Regions from separate parts of the Homo sapiens genome. Here region 2 is linked to region 1. The links are contacts of gene promoters, found by promoter capture Hi-C in blood cells and fetal thymus (Javierre and others, 2016). All regions are on one chromosome and are shown on one strand. The core of a region is centred on a gene start or on the middle of the fragment in contact, and the rest is flanking DNA. Distances in the headings are between cores, read along the strand shown.

Region 1 (3,129 bases), core at 474-2,973:
AGGCAAGAAATAGCATGATACATGGAAGTGATAAATAATTCAGTGTTTCAGACTGCAAATCAAAAATTACAGGTTCATGGTCAAATGCGGTGGCTCATGCCTGTAATCCCAGCACCTTCATGCCTGTAATCCCAGCACTTTGGGAGGCTGAGGCGGGTGGATCACGAGGTCAGGAGTTCGAGACCAGTCTGGCCAACATGGTGAAACCCCGTCTGTACTAAAAATACAAAAAATTTGCTGGGCATGGTGGCATGCACCTGTAATCCCAGCTACTCAGGAGGCTGAGAAGAGAGAATTGCTGGAACCCAGGAGGCAGAGGTTGTAGTGAGTAGAGATTGTGCCACTGCACTCCAGCCTGGGAAACGGAGCAAGACTCCATCTCAAAAAAAAAAAAAAAAAAATTACAGATTCAAACACCCAATCAAGTCAGTCATTCATTCAAACAAAACCTACTGAGTACTTCTATGCCTCAGACAAATGCTTTAGAATGTGGCATAAGACAACAAAACAGATAAAAATGCCTGCCTTCATGGATTTTACATTTTAATAGGGGAACACAATTAAAAATACATGTAACAAATATGTAATACATATATAGAATAATGATAAGCGCTGAAGTAAAAAGAGGAGATAAAACAGGGTGGAGGAGATAGGGGTAGGGGCTATGGAAGTTGCAAAGCTTCAATTTAAATAGGGAGGTTGGGATATGCTTTACTGCAAAGGTGACATTTGAACAACATGTAAAAGCTATGAAGGAATAGCTGTATGGATCCAAAAGCATTCTAGAAAGAAGCAGCAGTCAGTGCAAAGGCCCTGTGGTAGAAGTAGGCCTAGTGTACTTAAGAAACAGGGTGGTAAGTATGGCTGGAACAAAGGGAGAGAGAATACAAAGACATGTAGTCAGAGAGGTAATGGGAGACCAGATCATGTAGAGCAGAGGTGTCCAATCTTTTGACTTCCTTAGGCCACACTGGAGGAAGAATTGTCTTGGGCCACACATAAAATACACTAACACTAATGATACCTAAAGGGCTCAAAAAAAAAAAAATCTCATAATGTTTTAAGAAAGTTTACAAATTTGTGGTGGGCCGCATTCAAAGCCATCATAGGCCACAGGCAGCCTGTGAGCTGTAAGTTGGACAAGACTGATGTAGACTATTGTAGGCCAACGTAAGGCTGTTAGCTTCTACTATGAATCAAATGATTCACGAAAGGTTTTTAAGCAAAAAAGTAATGTTTTATTCTTCTGTATATTATTTTGAAATAATTCTGAATTTACAGAAGGGTTACAAAGATAATAGAAAGTTCTCATATACCCCTCACCCAATTTCTTCTAATATTAACATCTTATACTACCACGGTGCATTTATCAAAACCAGGAAACCAACACTGATACATTTCTATCAACTAAACCATAGACTTTATTTGGATTTCACCAGTTTTTCCATTAATAACCTCTTTCTGTTTCAGGATCCAATCTAGCATAACATATTGCATTTAGAATCTTACATGTAAATACACAATTTTTTATTTATATTTTAAAAGTATCACTCTGGCTGACATATGAGAATAGACTGTAGGGAGGCAAGGACTGAAAAAAGCAGAGAGAACAGAACACAATTACTATAATCCAGGCAAGAAATGATAGTGGGTAATAACAAAAATCTGAGCAAGAGATGATCAGTATACTAATAGCAGAAATAGTAGAAAACTGTTGAATTCTAGATATATTTCATAGAAAAAGCCAACAGATTTGTTGGAATACAAGAGAAAGGAAGGAGTCAAGGATGACTCCAAAGATTTAACTGAGCAACTGGCTGTATAAAGTTGCCATCAATTCAGATGAGAAAGAATGGGAAAGGTTTGGGAGGAAAGGAGTTCGGTCTGGGACATCTGAGTTCAAGATATCTTTTAAATATACCAATGAAGATGCAGAGGTAGAAAAAGAGGAATTGGAACATGGAGCATAGAAAACTCTTTAGAGGATTTTTGTTGCAGAGAAGAGCAAACAAATGGGGTTGAAAATGGAGAAAGGTTAAGAGAAACATTTCTTAAGGTAAAAGAAATAAGACATACATTAAATAGAAGTGTCTTTTTTGGTGAAACTTCTTTTTTTAAAAAATGTTAATGTGTATATTTGAGGTTTACAAGTTGACATTATAGGATACACACAGATAGTAAAATGGTTATTTTAGTCAAGGAGATTAACACCTATCATCTATCTTATTTTTTGTGTGTGACAAGGGCAGCTGAAACTCTACTTATTTAACAAAAATCCCTAACAGAATAAAACTGTATTAACTTTGGTCCTCAAGTACATTTCAGTCTGAATTGAAAAGCCATGTGGGAAGGGAATAAAAACAAGGGGGGAGAAAAAAAGGACAAACACTGGAACATGAAAAACCTCTACCTGAGGTTAGGGAGGCTAGCTGAGGATAAGAGGAAAAAAGCAGAACAATTGTCTTTCAATATATGTGAATAACAGTGAATGAAAAAAGGTAGGTAATGTAAAAGGTAATGTAAATCAACCCTATCATTAACACTAGCAACAAAGTAAAAAGAGAAAATGGGGAGAAAGTGGTCTGGTGATACAAATGCAATACCAACTTAATACTAAAACCTTTTATAGCAGTCCTCTCCTTATCCAAGGGTGTATATCCCAAGGCCCCGTGAGGAGGCTGAATCCAACTGCCTTCAATCTGAGCATGCTTCTGTTCACATTTTCTAACCACAAATTTAATTCCTTTTTTATCTTAACTAAGCTTTTATAATGCACTATGGCTATAAGTTTGGCAGTTTGAGGTGTGACAGTAAAACTAGCATAAATTTCTTTTTGCTTATTCACAATTTTACAGATAGATTTGTTCTTACCATAGTTCTTAACAACATCAACATAGGATTTCTTTTCTTCCTTATTAAGTGGAGAACTTTCCTTTTTTTGCTTAAAAGAGGCACTTTACAGCTACTCTTTGGCATAACCAAATTGCCAGCGTCGTTACTCTTGTGCTTTGAAGCAATAATTAAGTAAAATAAGTATTCCTAGAACACACGCACTGTGATACCACCTCCATCAATCTGATAACCAAGCAACTAAAAGGCAGGAAGCTTATACAGCAGGGATACGCTAAA
Region 2 (3,330 bases), core at 1-2,500, 4.2 Mb before region 1:
ATTCCTACCCAAGAAACCTGAAACTTCAAAAACTTTTCCTAACAAACCACAGATGAAAAGGACAAAGTATGATTTACCCCTTCATTTCCACTTCTTTTCTGGAGCCAGCTTCCCAAATTCCTGAACAGCAGTCTTAACTTACTGGTTAGTTGGAGGAGCGGTCAACGGTATGGCCACCTCTTCCTCCTCGTATTCTGGTCCATCCAGAGAGTCACCTTCGTCCACTGTCCCGAGGCCCGCCCCCAAAGGGGGCAGGTAAGGGGGAGGGGGCAGAGGGGGAAAACCGCCGCCTGGCCCGAGAGTCTCAGCAAGCAACGAAGTGGGCAGTTTGGTGAGAGCCATGTCTCCACTAGGTCCAGCAACAGCAGCACCGGCCACGCCAGCAGCAGCACCAGCTACGCCAGCAGCAGTACCTCCCCCTGTCAGTCCAGCTCCCCCCAGTGCCCCTGCCACAGACCCGGCTCCTAGGAACTCTGACCCCAAAGCGGCTCCGCCACCCAGAGTTCCAGCCACTCCGGTCTCCACCAGCCCAGGATAGGGGGCGGCTGCCACAGGCAGGGCCGCGGGTATCTTCACCCGACACACTGCGGGATAGGCACTGGAGCCCGCTGCCGCGCCGCCTCCTCCAGCTCCGGCTGTTACCGGGCCGCCCTCCTCACTGCCGGCCTCGGCCGCCATCATGTTGAAGCCCGCTCTACTCTGCCCTACCCTGCCCGCCCGGGAGCCCCAGGGGCCACCAGGCCCGGGCTCCGAGCAGCCCCACCCAGACGCGTCTCCCCTTCAGCTCCCCAGGCTGAGGAAACAACAACAAAAGGAGAGAGCCCGCCGCCGCGCCCCCTCCTAGGGCCACAGCCCAGGCTCCCCAGCTGCCTGGGTTACGGGAAGCCAAGTGGGCAAAAAACCCAACGCCTGCACAAACGCCACCCAAACCTCACCGCACACACCCACACTCACGCACACAAACACATGTACAGAAGCGAAAACTTCCTCGCTGCACTAAAGAGGAAAGGAAGCACAGGGAAAGAGGCTGAGGCTGCTACCGCTCCTTCAGCCGCCACCACCGCTTCTTCACCACCCCAGTTCCGGCCACCCACACCGCAGCCACCGCCGGTGCCGCTGCTGAGGCTGGGGCCACTGCAGCCGCTTCATCCTCCACCAGGCAGATGAGAGGGGTGGGGGGGCAAGAGAAAGGGGGGCGGGGTAACGAGGAAATCGACTGAACTGCTCACTACCTGGAGCTCTCAGTGAGTGAAACGGGAGAGAGAGAAAGGAAGGCGGGGCAGGGGAGGAGGGACGGAGGGAAGGAAGGGCGGAGAAGGGAGAGGGCAGCTTGTGCGCAGGCGCGTTCCCGGAGCGGGGGCGGGGGGCCGGGCCGGGAGGAAAAGGAAGAGTCCAGAGGGAAGGAAGCGGCGGGGACGCGCGGTGCGTGGTCGCGCTTGCTGTCCTCCTCCGGTTCCAAGCGTGTGGCGGCGCGGCCGCATCTCCTGTTGGCGTGGCCGGCGGCGCGCGCCTGTCTCCCGGGGCTTTGTTTGATGGGCGGGAGAAGAGGGAAGGGTACCTGAGCACGCGGGTGCTTGGCGCTGTTAAAGCCGGAGAGACCAGAGGGGGACCAGGAGGCGGTGGAGAGGAAGGAGGGGGAAAGGGAAAGGAAAATGCCCAGAAACTAGTTCCGTACTTCCTGACCAGTGGAAAAAACAGCCTTAACCAGCAGCGCAGAAACCGGGCAGGGGTCAGGTAGCTTTGAAGATCGGGGCAGTACTATTAATGTTTTCTTTTTCGTTGCATGCTATAAATCACTATGACTATCTCACACACACACAGTTAAAATAGATTCTGAAACTCCAAAACGAAATAAAGGGCACCATATGAGAAGGGTGAAGAATTTGAGTAGAAATAGTGGTTATGAAGTAAGATTTCTACCAGTATTTGCATACGTTTTTCTTTATCAACTGTCTCATATACTTACCTATGCCATTATAAGTCTGTTGGATACTGATGAAGAGGAGGAGGTGCCACAGAAAACACTAATCAATGCACTTTTGTCCTGGTTTGTGTGCAAAAGACTGCAGGACGTGATCCACAATGCAAGCACCTTCAACAAGTCAAATGTCAAGAATGTCCCAGAATGCTAGTTATAATTATATATCGTTTCAAAAGTAGCAATAAACTGAAAACTCATTTTTAATACAATTAAGGAGAAGGGTGTTATTTTGTCTTTTACACTAAAATGTATACAAACTATGCATTCATGTAGAGGGAGCTTCCCATGGTTTGAAATTAACAATATTGTTAAATTCTCCCAGGAGTGATCCCACATTAAATACCATTGGATATTGATCTTTGAGATCAATATTTTCTGTGCTAAGGATGATCAAACTAACACTCAGGATGGCAAGTGGCTGTGATAGAAACCCAGGAAAAAGAGAAAAGACCACTAAAAGACGTGACAAGATACAGGCAATGCATTGCCTTTGTAAGTTTGCACAGGCCTATTTACCTAGTCAATGACAACAATCCAACTTGATTAGGAGTAGTCCTGGGGCCTCCATTACGCATATCTCTTAGCAGTGTGCTACCTGGGAGAAGGAAGATGGACCAGTCACAGGAGCTAGAGTTCTCAAAGTGAATTCAGGCCGCAACATCCTAGGAATTCAGAAATGCCACCTCAGACCTTCTGAATCAGAAAATATGCAGCGATCCATTTTAACAAACCCTCCAAGTGATTGTTTGCACACTTAAGTTTGAGAACCACTATATTAATGTATAGTATACTAATCAAGAAGGAGGTATGCAATACCTAAAAACGGTTCTGAAAGAAATAATAAATGTCATTCATTAGGTGGGTAGGTAAAATAGGCGGGTTTTGAGTTGCCAAGCTCTGTGCTGTTCTAGAAATGAGAATGAAGTAGTTCCATAATACTTAATAATGAAGTACTACTTATGGTGGCCTCCCTGAGAACAGTTTTCTTTTAAACTTAGACCCTCAGTTAGACAAGACTATCAAAATACCTACTCTACTTACTGTCTGCTGTGTGAACACCAAGTGCAACAATCCCAACAAATCTTAATATAGCCTGTGCTTGAAAACCTCCAGTGTGTTAGCATCCCAATCCTCCAACATTCCTGTCCCAGTCACCACTGTCAGCCCTTGAATGCAGGACATTGAACTGGCAGGTTATCACCGGCTCTTGGTTATCACTGATTTCTAAATGTTCACACACCCTCTGTATGTTGCCTGGGAGTCCAGGTGAGGCTCACTACTCTTACTGCAGAATTACCTCCTCCTTTTTGACAATTCTTTAGCACTTGTAAAGGTCAATATTTAATGCA

Evidence for each region. Contacts are between HindIII fragments. The CHiCAGO score rates a contact against its expected background, and 5 or more counts as called.
Region 2: the fragment with the promoter of RASA1 here is called in contact with a fragment that was not itself captured in region 1 in 1 of 17 cell types (M2 macrophages); the score reaches 6.2 in M2 macrophages.

The regions. Positions count from the first base shown.
Region 1 is chr5:83,080,648-83,083,776 of GRCh38, reverse strand. The region is part of intron 1 of XRCC4 (X-ray repair cross complementing 4); the gene reads right to left. Among named protein-coding and RNA genes, the nearest start is that of XRCC4, 4.7 kb to the right of the region's middle. The HindIII fragment of the contact is 2,083 bases long and covers 682-2,764 here.
Region 2 is chr5:87,265,803-87,269,132 of GRCh38, reverse strand. RASA1 (RAS p21 protein activator 1) reads right to left here and starts at 1,250. Exons shown (of 25, transcript NM_002890.3): 1 at 143-1,250. The coding sequence starts at 681. RefSeq lists enhancers at 479-528, 286-1,173, 1,227-1,521 and silencers at 709-888, 1,229-1,478. The HindIII fragment of the contact is 5,594 bases long and covers 1-3,330 here.